3 separate regions of the Homo sapiens genome follow, and regions 1 and 3 are each linked to region 2. Evidence: promoter capture Hi-C in 16 types of primary human blood cells and fetal thymus (Javierre and others, 2016). All regions are on one chromosome and are shown on one strand. The core of a region is centred on a gene start or on the middle of the fragment in contact, and the rest is flanking DNA. Distances in the headings are between cores, read along the strand shown. Region 1 has its middle 10 kb from the start of FAM241B. Region 2 holds the start of COL13A1 (collagen type XIII alpha 1 chain). Region 3 overlaps COL13A1 (collagen type XIII alpha 1 chain).

Region 1 (4,427 bases), core at 1,605-4,104, 160 kb after region 2:
AGCCAAGGACAGGGCCTGATTGAACAAGTTAAAGGACTTGAACCCAGGGAGATAAGTGACTTCTGAAACAAGTACCTTAAGGTGTTGGAGGGCTCCTCAGGGACAGCTTGATGCTGACTGTGGCCTTGAGTGTAATGTCCAAGGAAGACCCAAGAAATGGGGAGCAGAGGGACCTGGGTTTAAATCCTGCCACTTAACAGCTGAGTGAGTTCAGGTAAGTTCCCTGCCTCTCTGAGTCTTAAGTTTATCAATACAACAACTTAAATAGATGGGATAATATGTGTGAAATCCTCTACACCCTGCCTGGTACATGGTAGGCACCCAATCAATTGTAATCGTGGCCATCAAGCTATCAGGTGCTATGGTTGATGGACTTAAGGTGACCCCATGATCCCAGCCTCCTGGTGTTCATGCGTTTCTGTGATCCCCTCCCCTGGTGAGTGGGACCTGTGACTGGCTTCCAACCAACAGAACACGGCAAAGGGGAGGGGATGTCCAGAGCTAGCTTTGGAGTCTCTCTCCGTTGCTGGCTGTGAAGAAACAAGTTGCAGTGAGTCCTATACCTGCAAGAAAGCGCAGCTTATTCTTTCTAGGAAGCTTGGAAGTGGACCCTTCCCAGTCGAGCCTCCAGATGAGAATCCAGCTCTGACTGGCACTGTTGGCAGCTCTGCAGAGGACCTGCTAAGCCATGCCCAGGAACTGTGAGATACTAAATGTGTGTTGTTTTAAGCTGCTAAGTTTTTGGTGACTTGTGACATGGCATAGAAAACAAATAGAGGTGCTATATCAAGAATATGTTATGGAATACATAAGGAATATAAAACTTCCCCTTTTCCTGCACGTCAACCCCAAGAGGGGGCATTATTTCCCCCATTTATAGAGAAAACTGAGGCTTAGCAGAGCAGCTAAATTCCCTGAGACCACGCAGCTCCTGGGGGAGGAGGAGCCAGAACACAGACCCCAGGGCCTGCTGTGAGCCAGGAGGAGCACCAATATCCCTGCTGCAGTGGTGGCAGCCTTACCCCGCAACGTGCTGTGCAGCGCGATGAAGCCTTTAGCGGGGTCTGCCCCGCCCAGTCCTCCACAGACCGCACCCCTCCCTGGTGCCTGGGACCCAGCTGCTTCTCACGGTTCTCTGGCACCTATCTGGTCCCTGAGGGCATTTCAGTTTCTAACTCCTGCATAACTAGGGCACTGGTAGTTAGATCCCAAGTAGATCCAGCCCTGGTTTCTCAAGGGCTTGGGAGCAAAAGGCAAGAGTCTAACTCCCCTGGAATAAGGCAGAGGCAAGGAGACAGCACATGCACCCCCTTCCTGAGCTGTGAGGCCACAATGAGTCACTCCCACAACATCCATGTGTCCCAGGGTCACTGCACCCTCTGCACCCTGGGCTGGGCCTGACCTGTCACTTGACTCCAAGGAAAAGCAAGTGCAGCAGAGGAGGGAGAGAGAAGCGCGAATGCCACAGTCTTGAGAGAAACCCTCCCCAGGCTTCTGGAGTGGGCAGCAGTTCCCACCTGGTGGGTCTTCAAGGAAGGCTGCTTCTTCATTTAAAGAGAGGCTGGGATACAGGCAGATGTCACAGGGAGCCTTGGGACCCCCGGCTCAGAGCTACATTTATACTATTGACCTAGGTTCTTTCATTCCTCCCTCCCTCCCTGCCTCCCTCCTTTCTTTCTTCCTTCCTTCTTCATCCCACACGTGCTGCGGGGTAGAGCTACCTGCACTTACAACTTGAGAATAATGTCCCTGAGTACACAGGTGACAGAGAAGTCACCAGGATCCAACCCAGTCAAGGCAGGAAGAATGGGCTCTGTTTTTGGGGTCCCCTCCTCCCTTTAGTTGGGCTAGTGCCTCATGCCTTCTCATGCAGTTTGCAGAGCAGTCCCCAAGTTTTGACAAAGGGCCAGGGCCCCTGTCTGGGACTGGGAATACAAAAAAGAGCTGAGCATGATCCCTGCCCTCAGAAACTCAGTCTGCCATGTGAGAGGGAAGGAGCCACAAACCCTGCTCCCCGGGGACAGGGCAGCTCCCACCTGGAGGAAGGCTGGCTCATGGCTCTGGAACTGGAACCCAGGCTGCATGTTTTAAAGCTGCCCAGATGAACTGGTGGTGTTGCTAGGTTGAGAACAACTATCACAGGAAAAGGAACACGCTGTTGGAGGCACTTGTGGTTGGCTTGTATGTTCCCTTGCTGACAGCGTCCAGATTTTAGCCACTTCATCAGAAGAAAGTGATTTCTCAGGATTAGCTGAGCTCAAAGCTGCAAAAAAGAAAAAACAAACACACCCCCTCATAGACTGACAAGCGTGCTCACACAGGCCCATGCCTCAGAGGCAGATGTCTTCACTGCATGATACTGGTAAGCAGACATATTGGGAAATTTTTCTATTTTTTTTTCCTCCCAGAATTTCGAAAGCAAATTGCATTTTACATTTTCTTGACTGAGGGCAGACAATTTTCACTAATGGGCCCTGTAGGAGGTGATCTGATACAAACCCTCATCCATGGCACACCGCTACACCCCAGGCACTGCATACACGTCTTCCAATTGCAGCTCAACACCGCCCTAGATGACACGTCATCCCCATTTCACAGATGAGGCACAGTAAGGAACTTGCCCAAAGCTACCAAATGGGGAGCCTGTCTGACTCGCCTGCTTCTTGCCTCCAGTGAAAAAGACAAGAGCTAGGCAATGGGCCCCATGTCACAAATATCACGTTCATTGAGGGGAACCACCTGGCGCCAGGCTCTGAGTAAGGACAGGCAAGTGTGAGGCGTTGGTGGGTGCTGCACTGGGTAAGGCTGGGCTAGACATAGCCACCCCCACCTAGAGAGAGTGCAGCCTTAAACAGTAAGCAAGCCCCTTCCACTAACATGATCACAGCAACCCTGGGCCACCAAGTCTAAAACTTCTCACTCTGTCTCCTAGGCTGAAAACTCAAATACTGGAAGGTCTGGTTCAAGACTAGACCCCGGCGACAAACCCTCTCCCTGGGGGTTCCACAGCCACCTTCCACCCTCCCTAGGGCTCCCAGATTCAGTTTGCTGGAGGCTGGCGAGGCAGGCTCCAGATCTGCTGCCTGCCAACTTTGTGGCCACATATAAATTCCTTTACTCTGGGAAAAAGGAAGGACATATATTTTTCTTTGCTTGGGAGAGGATGAAATGAAACAAAACTTATGAATGTTCCCGGCACTAGGCTCAACCCAGGACGAAACCACAGTGAATGAGAAATTATAATGGAATTGTGCATGCTCTCCACCAGAAACCTTTCCAAAATACAAGGTAATACCAAGCCTGGGCTGGCTGAGGTGAGCACTAACCGGGAGCAGGAGAGCAGATGAATCCATTTGTAGTATATTTGCAGGAGGGAGTTCCTGCTCCTGTCCAAAAATTCCACCAGGTGGCGCCATGAGACAACTTTCACAACCTTTCCAGTCTACACACCAAGGTGGTGGGGGTCCCTCAGGTCCCTGCAAAAGGGCATTGAGAGTTCATTACCCAGTTCAGAGCAAGAAAGCTGGGGTCTTGGTCTCTCCTCAAGGCTTTTCTTAACTTCCTTAATCCAGATGTTCATGAAAATGGGGTGTTACTGGACACATAAAAGGGAACAACACACATTGGGGCCTTTCAGAGGGTGGAGTATGAGAGGAGGGAGAGGATCAGGAAAAATAATGAGTGGGTACTAGGCTGAATACCCGGGTGATGAAATAATCTGTACAACAAACCCCCATGACACAAGTTTACCTATACAATAAACCTGCACATGTACCCCTGAACTGAAAAGTTAATTTTTTTTAAAAAAGAAAGAAAATGGGGTGTTAGAGGAAGTGGGGACAGCAACGTGTTGGACAATGACGTTGGCAATGCCAGGCCAGGCAGCAGCAAAGTCCATCAAGCGTCTACTAAGGGCAAGGCCCTCTGTGGTAGGTGTCGGTCTCAGAGCTGAAAGGGGCCTTCGTGGAAGTCTAGCCCAGCCTGTTTGTTTTTCCAGAATGAGGGAGGCCAGGCGGGGGTCACTCCCTGCCTGTCAGAGGTTGTGGGGAGTCCCTCTCAGCTCGTCTCAGGGTGCAGTGTGACCCAGGAGGCAGTGTTCAGGTGAGGCCACTGCGCCTTTTCAAGGAGCCAGATGAGGGCAGAAATTGCACCCTATCCAACTGCAAAGGAGACTGAGAAACCCTATAAGGTTGTGATATCTCCCCTTGGGCCCTGGAGAAAGGGAGACAGTTCTGTCAAGATCCCCACATTTCAGGGAAAAACCCCATGGGTTGGTTCAGGGTCAGAGCTGCAAGGCCCTGAGGGTCAACTGAGTCAATCCCCCATGGTACAGGTGAGCCCAAGACAGGGTCGACAACTCAAACACCAAAATACTGCAGGATGAAAATGCTCTTCATGTACTCATATAAAATGTGCCAAGATACACT
Region 2 (4,035 bases), core at 1,005-3,504:
GCCCAGAGATGCTGCACCTCCACCCCAGGCCCAGGGAACCATGGACGGCCCGATGGAGTTCTCCGGATTCCCTGGAGCCTGGCAGGGCGTGGGAATGAGCTGACAGCAGCAGTCATGGGTGCACCACTAGCACCAGTACGCTTGCCCTGTGACCGCTCTCTCTGCTCTGGCCCTGCAATCTCCTCCTTGGCCACCCTGGAGAACTGCTCCAGCAGGTGCCAGCCTGGCAGGGGCAGCTGAGAAGAGCCTGGCTATAGGGAATAGGTACATCTTGCCAAAATGCTCACAGCACCCCACCCACCACAGTTAGAGCTGTGCTCCAGTGTTTGCTACATCAGCACTGTTTCGCATGTTCAGAGGGGTTGGAGCGTTTGTCCCAAGCTTCCAAGTAGCAGAGTGGGGATAAAAACCCAGGGTTGCTGGCCTCTACCACCGTGATCTTTACTGCTGCACACTCCCTCCAGCTAAGTAAGATATCCTCTCCCATTTCTTCCCCATGGAAACCTTCCATGGCCAGGACCTTCCATGGCCAGGACCTGCTCCAGGACCTCTTCCCAGACTGCTGCGGCCCCCACCTGCCTGTCCTCCTCTCTATCTGGGCCCTGAATCCCCTGTGCTGTCCAGATTCCCACAGATCATCAAGCCTCACCCTGTCAAGGCCCAGCCTTTCCTCTGGTGGCACAAAGAGGCTGCATGTCCCTCCTTCCTGGGGAGGGGACAGCCTTTTCCTGTATTCCGAAGATTGCCATAGCTACCTGACACGCTAGTAGTGTTTAATCTACTTGGATCAAAAAAATTTGGAGAATGGAAGAAAGCATCCTTTCTCCAGAAAAATAAGAAACCTGGTTTAGGAAAAAGAAGGTGTGGACTAATTTGTGGCCAAGGACAGCAGAGCCAGGCGACCCACACTTGGACCCTAGCGGCCTGGGCCAGTGAGCAGAGACCAGGGCACCACCCCCTGCAAGAACTGTCCCCTCTCCCCGCACCCCCCGGGTCCTTAAGGGGTGGAGGGGGAGGGCCATGGGGGCTCAGTAAGCCTCGGCCTGGGCCTCTGGGCGCGCTTGCCGCTGCGCGGGCGCGGGGCGGCTGTCACACCACCCTGGCCGGGTCCCGAAAGGGAGGAGTGGAGCTTGCCCGCCTCCGCGAGCCTCCGCGCGCCCAGCCTTCCTCCACCTGCCCGGCGTGCCCAGGGCGCTCCCAGCGCTGGAAGCCGGGGGCGCTTGCCCGAGGCGGGAGTCGCTGGGTCATGCTCTTGCCCACCAGGTCCTCCGAATCCCTGGTAGGGCAGCGTCTGTCCGTGTCCCCGACCCCTCCCGCAGGCAACTCGCGCGAACCTGGGGCTCGCAGAGAGCGAGCGCCCGCGGACACCGGCTGAACAGTCTGGAGGCTGCGCGAGGGGGCGCCGCGGGGAGGGATAAAAGCCAGCAACAAAGAGCACAGACCTCGTCCAGCAGTTGATTGACTCGTCCCAAAATAGCCGTCTCCATTTGCTGCTCCCCGCGCTCCGCTTCCAGGCGCAGCACCCGGGCCTGCAGCTCGGCCGTCCGAAAGTGGGCGAGCAGGCTGAGTGCCAGCGAGCAGAGGGCCAGCGTCAGCAGCCCGCACGACCCTGGACTCGGCAGCCGTGCGCCGCGCTCCGCCCGCGCCGCCACCAGAGCCACCGTCCCGGGCGCGCCCAACTCCCCAGGGCCGCGGGCACCGGTGGCTGCCGCTTTGTGGGTGCGCTCCGCTACCATCCTCTCGCGTCTTGAGAACCAATAAATAAATAAATAGAATAAATAAAGGCGACAGCCGCTGCCAAAAGGCTCTATCCAAACTGCGGGGCAGGGGGAAAGGGCTTGTATCGCTGGAAAACGTCCCTTTCCGCTGCTCCCGGCAAAGAGGACGGAAAAATTAGCAGTAGGAGAGGAAGTGCCGAAAAAGCACAACCAGCGGTAATTGGGGTACACCTAGGTGAGAAAAAAGTTATTTCGAAGAACGTTCCAAGTCCAGGAAAGTTAGGGGAATCTGACCGGCTCTCCTTCTCTCCGCCCAGTCTTTCCCTTCAAGTGTCTGCAGAGCAGTTGGTGCCGCGCTGTCAGTCCTTCTGGGCGCCTCGTGTCTCCCGGGCCAGTCAGTTTCAGTCCCCGGGCGAAGGGGCGCACACGGAGGGCCCCATGGGCAGAGGTGGGTCGTGGCGGCTGGCGAGGAGCGCAGGGGCCGATTCCGGCGCCTCTGTAACTTGACACACTCCCTGCGGCGGCACGGATCGGATGAGCAATCCGTGCTACTTCCCAAACTAATCTCTCCCTCCCCCCTCCCTCCTCCTCCTCCTCCTCGTCACTCCTCCTCCACCTCCCGCGGGGCCGACGGCTTGGATTTGTTTATTTATGCAAACTCGCCCAGGGTGGGGGGCGTGGTGAGCAGGTCCGGCGGCCCCAGCCCGCCGGCCCGGGAGCCCCTCTGCCGCGCTCCCCGTCCTCTTTGAAGTGACACTTGGGGTTATTTATAGGCAGGAAGGGGGTGTGGAGTGGAGCTGGCGCTGCACTTCCCTCTCTTTCTCCGGATTCACACCGAGGGCTCGTTTGGCCTTCCACGGAGGCGGTGAGGCGGGCACCACCTTCCATGGACGCGTTGGGGCAGGCACCACTCCACCTTTCCCAGCCCTTGAGACCCTCCAGGAACTCGACTGAGTTATTGTCAGGGCTTGTGGGTGGATCTCCACGTCCTGATCAGGACTACCTGATCCCTTCAGCCACCGCTCCTCTACTCCCAAGCCCCCAACCTCTTTCCCCTTCCTTCTCCCCCGACAACCGACTCCCCGGGGGCTCTGTACCTCCTGAGATCTGCAGCTCCTCCAGTGCCGGGCGGCCAACCACATCTTTACTCTGGGGTGAAAAGTCAGCCCTCCAGGGGGCAGCAGAGCTGGCAGCCCTTCCTCTCAGGACCAAGACCTGAGGTAGTATGAGACACTGAAAACGGAGGAGATCTTATTCCAGGTATCTGAGAGGTGGCTCATTGGGGCCGCCTGCCAGTCCTGACATCTCCCCTTCTTGCCTGCCATTAATCTGAGACCCATGCCATCTATCCCTGTGTGGTGAGACCAGCCTGCCTCAATCATCCCAGTCATCAAAGGTGAGCAATTCCTACACAAACTCAGGTTCCATCCCTGCGGGAGGCTTAGGGCTAACCAGGCTCTCTCCTGTTGTCATTTCCTATATTCCACTAGAGAAAAACTGGTGGCCTGAAGGGCATTTGGTAGTTTTCTCTCTTCTCTTGTCACCTCCTCCACCCCCCACATTAAGTAGCATTTGTATCCCAAGAGACTTTATCTCCTTGTGCCTGTTGACATTCCTGTGAATGAGGTGGTGGGACTGAGTTTTTGGGAGAAAGCCTGTCTTCCTGGAACAGCGGGCAGAGGAGAGTAGACTGGGTTTTCAAATATGCAGTGGAGGTGGGGGCAGCAGTGGTGCTGGGATTCCATTTCAAAATAACAAGGCATGCCAGTACAAACTTCCCATTTTCTATATTGACCTGATGGAACTTGATATATAATACAGTGTCACTGCACTTCTAATAAAGTGTGGCACACTTAATAGTGCATATTGGACTTGTAACATAGTAAGTACTGAGATCATATGTAATAAAGGTAACATTGACTGCTGGGCCAGTCAGCCACTATGGAGGACAACAGGAATAGAAGGCGATGCTGCTGAAAGAGCCCGTGGCCAGGAGCTCTGGGTTCCAGTTCCAGTTCTAGGATTCTCCTGATGGCTTCAGTGGCAAGGGCACTCTGTTTTCTCCATCCCTGTGATGGGATGTCCCAGTCCACTCTACAGAGGAATGAATCCTTGGGAGACTTGGATGGTATTGAAGAACACCAGGGGGCGTTGGAGAGTTTCTGCACTGGGAGGTACAGGCCAGGAAATTCAGGGACTTTGGACTTCCCCCACTCCCCTCCCAGGCTAGTCTGAATGGAGGAACTGAGGTGGGGAGTTAGTTTCATTCCCTCCTTATTCTGCAAACTGATCTTTTCCCTTTCAGGACTTTGGAGGC
Region 3 (4,567 bases), core at 426-2,925, 130 kb before region 2:
GGTCAAAAACTCATAGCAACCCGGTGGACTGCTCAATGTTGAAAAAGCAAATTTCCAGGAACTGTCCCTAAAGATCTATTCTTCCAGATTTTTCTTGGAAAAAAAAAAACAAAAAAAACACCAGAAGATCTAGCAGCACTAGGTTCTTGTTCATGCATGGCAACAACAGCCTGGAGTGGAATTAGAGCTTTCCCCTCTAGGTGGGGCATGACACCTTCAGTTTACCCCAGTCCTCACCACTCCTTATTGTCTTTGATCCAGCGCTCTTGCAGTCACTTTTTGCAGGCCTGACCCTTGTAGACATTTGAGTTTGAGACCCTTGGCTTAGAGAAGCAGAGATTGGTTATCTGGAATGTGGGGAGACTGAGCTGTTCCTGGAGATTGCTCCTCAAGTCCCCAAGGTTTGTTACAGACAGGATGGGGACTGCTGGTCTCTGTTTCCCTTGAGAGCAGATGCAGATTGTGCTAGAGGAGATTCTGACTGGACAGTGAAGATGGAGGAGCTCAGGGCTGCCTCCTCTACAGAGGGTGGTGCCCATTGCAGCTTCTGTCTCTGATGAACACACACATCCTTTCATCCACAGGCAGCCACTGCTGGGTCCTTCTGAGCTGCTCACCCCGCCTCGGCTTCAGGGCTCTCCTCAGGTGCCTCGTCTTCCCAGGGGTAGAATTCCCTGGAGCATGGCCAGGGGAGTGACTCCTGTGCCAGGCCACGACAGAGGGCACCCCTACACTGGGCAGACAGGAGGTCCCTATTGTTTCCTGGACCTGTGGACTTTGTCGCTCCATCACAGTCTCCTTGGAGGGAACACAGTCTTTGGAAACTCTGCCTTCTTAAAAAAAGCTTCCCATTTTTAACAAAAGTTTACCATTTTAATTCTTATTATAAGTAAGTGGTTTATGTATCCTAATCATGGTATTGGTTATACAAATCTCTACATGCATTAACATTCACAGAACTGGACACATTCCAGAAGAAGTCAATTTTACCTGGGTGGTAATTTTAAAAATAATAAAAAGAATAAAAAGAATTTTTAAAATTTTCTTTAAAGAGAAAATTTAAACATTTTCTTGATGTATCAGATGTGCTTGAATATATGTATATACTTTTGATATTTACATATAATATGTGTAGAATTGTATATACATATATGTATATGCTTATGATTTCATATATGTATAAAATTTCGTTTTCAACTCTTTTTCACTTACTGTGAAACTGATGTTTCCATTTTTTATATGTTCGCCACCAGCTTCCTGGTAACGGTGCTGTGCTATTCACTGGGTGGAGTGAAAATGAGTTGTTACATACCCAGGGCTTAGTGCGGTGCTTGGCACGAGGGAAGTGCTCAGACGTGGTGACTATTATTACTATTAGTATTATTACTATAAGTTATTTAATCCTTTCCTTCTTGATAAAATTTAGAGTGTTTCTAATGTTTATTTTAAATACTTCTTGGAGGGACAATGTGCGTATAATGCTTTTCCTGAATTAGGATCATTTCTTTAGGAGGCTATCCATTTCGAAACAAGTACCATACACATTGTACAATCAGGCCTGTTTCACTACATTCAGACGGGGCTTGGCAAGGTGAACCCACCCTGATGGGGACTGAGAAGGCTTGGTGGTCTCTCCCATGGGTCTGAGGTGCTATTTGGGTTGCCCAGACCCCGCCACCAAACATCCTGTCTCTCACGCATCCTTGATCTCCGTTGCTTTCCGGGTTCTTGCCCCTGAGCCCGCAAATATGCCTGATTCTCTGCTGTCTTTTGAAAACCTTGCCTCCATCCTGACTATTCTCACTCAGCCATTCTGTTTTCTCTTCCTTTCACCACACTTCTCAAAAGAATAATGCCTCTATCTGGAAAGCCTACCTCTGAAACTTTGTGGCAAACTCCTACAAAGCCGTCAAGACTCTGCCCAAATAGAAAGTCTTTTGGGATGCTTGCCCGATTCCCTGAGTTGCTCCCATGCTAGTGCCCATTATGGGGTATTGTGAGCTGTGGAGGGATGGTTCTGTTTTTTTTTTTTTTTTTTTTTTTTTTTTTTTTGAGGCAGAGTCTCACTCTGTTGCCCAGGCTGGAGTGCAGTGGCACAATCCTGGCTCACTGTAACCTCTGCCTCCTGGGTTCACGTGATTCTCCTGCCTCAGCCTCCCGAATAGCTGGGATTATAGGCACCTGCCACCACTCCTGGCTAATTTTGTATTTTTAGTAGAGATGGGGTTTCACCATATTGGCCAGGCTGGTCTCAAACTCCCGACCTCAGGTGATCCGCCTGCCTCAGCCTCCCAAATTGCTAGGATTACAGGCGTGAGCCACCGTGCCCGGCAAGTTCTGTTTATTTTCGTATCTCCAGACTCTAGCACCAGGATGGAAGCATGGGAGGTGCTCTGTGAAGGTTGCTGAGAGATGTGGTTTGGGAAGACTGGAGCAGTCCAGAGGATCAGTGCCTGACCTATGGTGGTGCTCAGTAAACGTAAACATCAGGCAGTTGCAAGCTTCATTCTAAAGCACAGAAATACTGTGCATGCTGCAGAGACTGTCGCTTGATGAGTCTCTGTCAAATTATCTCTCATGTACCTCTGCTCCTGGATTGCCCTTCTCCCCGGCTTCTCCTTTCTCTCCCTGTGGGCACAAAACACCACTGCATGAATGCCAGCCCTTGTGAAAGCCTGGGACAGACGCACCCTCACATCTGTGACAAACTAGACTGGGACGTGACTGGTCTAGGGGTCAACAAGGAACACCATGGAGGATGTGGAGGTGTCAGCCTGCAGGACAGAATCTGAGGCTCTAGTACAGGGGAGGAGAGGCTGATACTCTCTGTGGACTCTGCAGCGTACAGGCCTTAGGGTGACCTGTGACTTGTTTCTTAGCCGTGGAGTAAGGCACATGGCAAAGGTGGTGGGACCTCACTTCTATGATTATGTTGCAGATTATAACATACATGTCATACAGATGGTGACATATAACATATATTAAGATTATGTTACAAATATGTTACATGAACACACAAACACACGTGCACACAGCTCTGTCTTGCTAGCACTAGACACTAGAGAGACCCTACTGCTGGCCTTGTCCTTGAAGATGCCAGTTGCTATAATGTGAACTGTCTACTCTGCGGGAGGTGGGGAGGGCAGGGGCGCAGGTGGCAGGAACTGTAGGTGGCCTCTAGGAGCTGAGTTCTGTTCCAGCAAGGAACTGGATTCTGCCAATACCAGTAGCTTGGAAGGGGATCCCTAGCTCCAGATGAGAATACAGTTGGCTGAGACATTAATTGCAGCCTCATGAGACCATGGGCAGAGGACCCAACTAGGATGTGCCTGAATTCCTGACCCACAGAAACTATGTGCCAATAAGTGTGTATTTTCTTAGGCCGCTACGTTTGCAGTGATTAGTTATGCAGCAATAGATAATAAATATGGCTCCAGAGGCCAGAGGCTCTGAGGGGTCAACTCGGGGAGGCTGACAAGGGAGCTTCCACACCATATCCAGGAATGCTCCCTCCATCCTGGGGCTGCCCCATGGTGCAGTGGACAGGTCTGGAGGCAGTGAGCTGCCTGCCTGTGCCGGTTGAGTGAGGAGTCCTGCACTGGGTCAGACTTGGGACTGGTTGACCTCTGAGGCTCTTTCCACTTCCTAGAGGAGAATTCTGAGACCAAGATTCTAGCACCGTCGAACTAGGTTGGTGCTCCTAGAGGCCATCATACCGTGAGCCAAGGAAGATGCAACTCCTGTTTACACTCAAATGAAGTAGCTGCTTGTTAAGAGGACCCTCCCTGCCTGCTCCCAGGCTGGGTCGGCAGGCTTGGGATTAGGGCAGCCTCGTCACAGTGTCAGGCACCCACTAGGCTGGTGGCCCCCAGGAGGACCCTCATCTGTGGCTGCCTGCAGGCAACCTTGACACCCAGCCCTCTGGCTTCACTGTAAACCTCAGGAGCCCAGCTGGATTAGGCAATCCTGCCACTCTGGGTCTGCTCTGGCCACCATGTTCTCCTCTCCCCAGTTGGGCCATCTAGACCCTACAGACTGACAATGATTTCTGTTAGTGGAGCTCAAGGTGGTCTTGCTGAGTGTGACCAACTGTGGCCTGCACAGGATGTGGCTCCCTTGCTCCAAGGGTAGGTGTCTAGGATGGCACCCATTTCACAGATGGAAACCCCTGAGACCCAGAGAAGGCCCCTAAGTCAAGTTAGCAGCCTAGTGGACTGGGCGAAGGCCCCGTTTCTGTACATGCAGCCTCTCCCGGGTATAGGGCTTCTGTACACTTTCCAAAGAGGCAGCTCTAAACCATGTCTTCATCTCTTTCCCAACAATCCAGTGAGGTATCCAGGGAAAACATTATTATCGCCAGTTTAGAGATGAGGAGACGGAGACTCTGCAACAGTGAGTGGCTTTCCCAAGGATACAGATGACAGAGCACAACTCAGGTCTCCTGAGTCGGGAAACTGGCCTTCATAAAGTGAGTGACTTGAGGGGAAGCTGAGTGAATCCTCCACCCCTAAGCCCTGGCCCCAGGTTTCTAGCCCAGGCAGCAGCTCACATCATGCAAAGTGCAAAG

The links. Contacts are between HindIII fragments. The CHiCAGO score rates a contact against its expected background, and 5 or more counts as called.
Region 1: a fragment that was not itself captured here is called in contact with the fragment with the promoter of COL13A1 in region 2 in 1 of 17 cell types (endothelial precursors); the score reaches 6.6 in endothelial precursors.
Region 3: a contact is called between a fragment that was not itself captured here and the fragment with the promoter of COL13A1 in region 2, in 1 of 17 cell types (endothelial precursors). The highest score is 5.3, in endothelial precursors.

The regions. Positions count from the first base shown.
Region 1 is chr10:69,638,394-69,642,820 of GRCh38, reverse strand. No RefSeq gene overlaps it. Among named protein-coding and RNA genes, the nearest start is that of FAM241B, 10 kb to the right of the region's middle. The HindIII fragment of the contact is 4,509 bases long and covers 600-4,427 here.
Region 2 is chr10:69,800,125-69,804,159 of GRCh38, reverse strand. It overlaps COL13A1 (collagen type XIII alpha 1 chain), which reads right to left and starts at 2,254. Exons shown (of 41, transcript NM_001368882.1): 1 at 1,443-2,254. The coding sequence starts at 1,736. It overlaps LOC124902444 (a long non-coding RNA gene), which reads left to right and starts at 2,389. Exons shown (of 2, transcript XR_007062179.1): 1 at 2,389-3,114; 2 at 4,024-4,035. The HindIII fragment of the contact is 5,096 bases long and covers 384-4,035 here.
Region 3 is chr10:69,930,621-69,935,187 of GRCh38, reverse strand. COL13A1 (collagen type XIII alpha 1 chain) reads right to left here. Exons shown (of 41, transcript NM_001368882.1): 31 at 2,584-2,628. Among named protein-coding and RNA genes, the nearest start is that of LINC02636, 76 kb to the left of the region's middle. The HindIII fragment of the contact is 1,657 bases long and covers 847-2,503 here.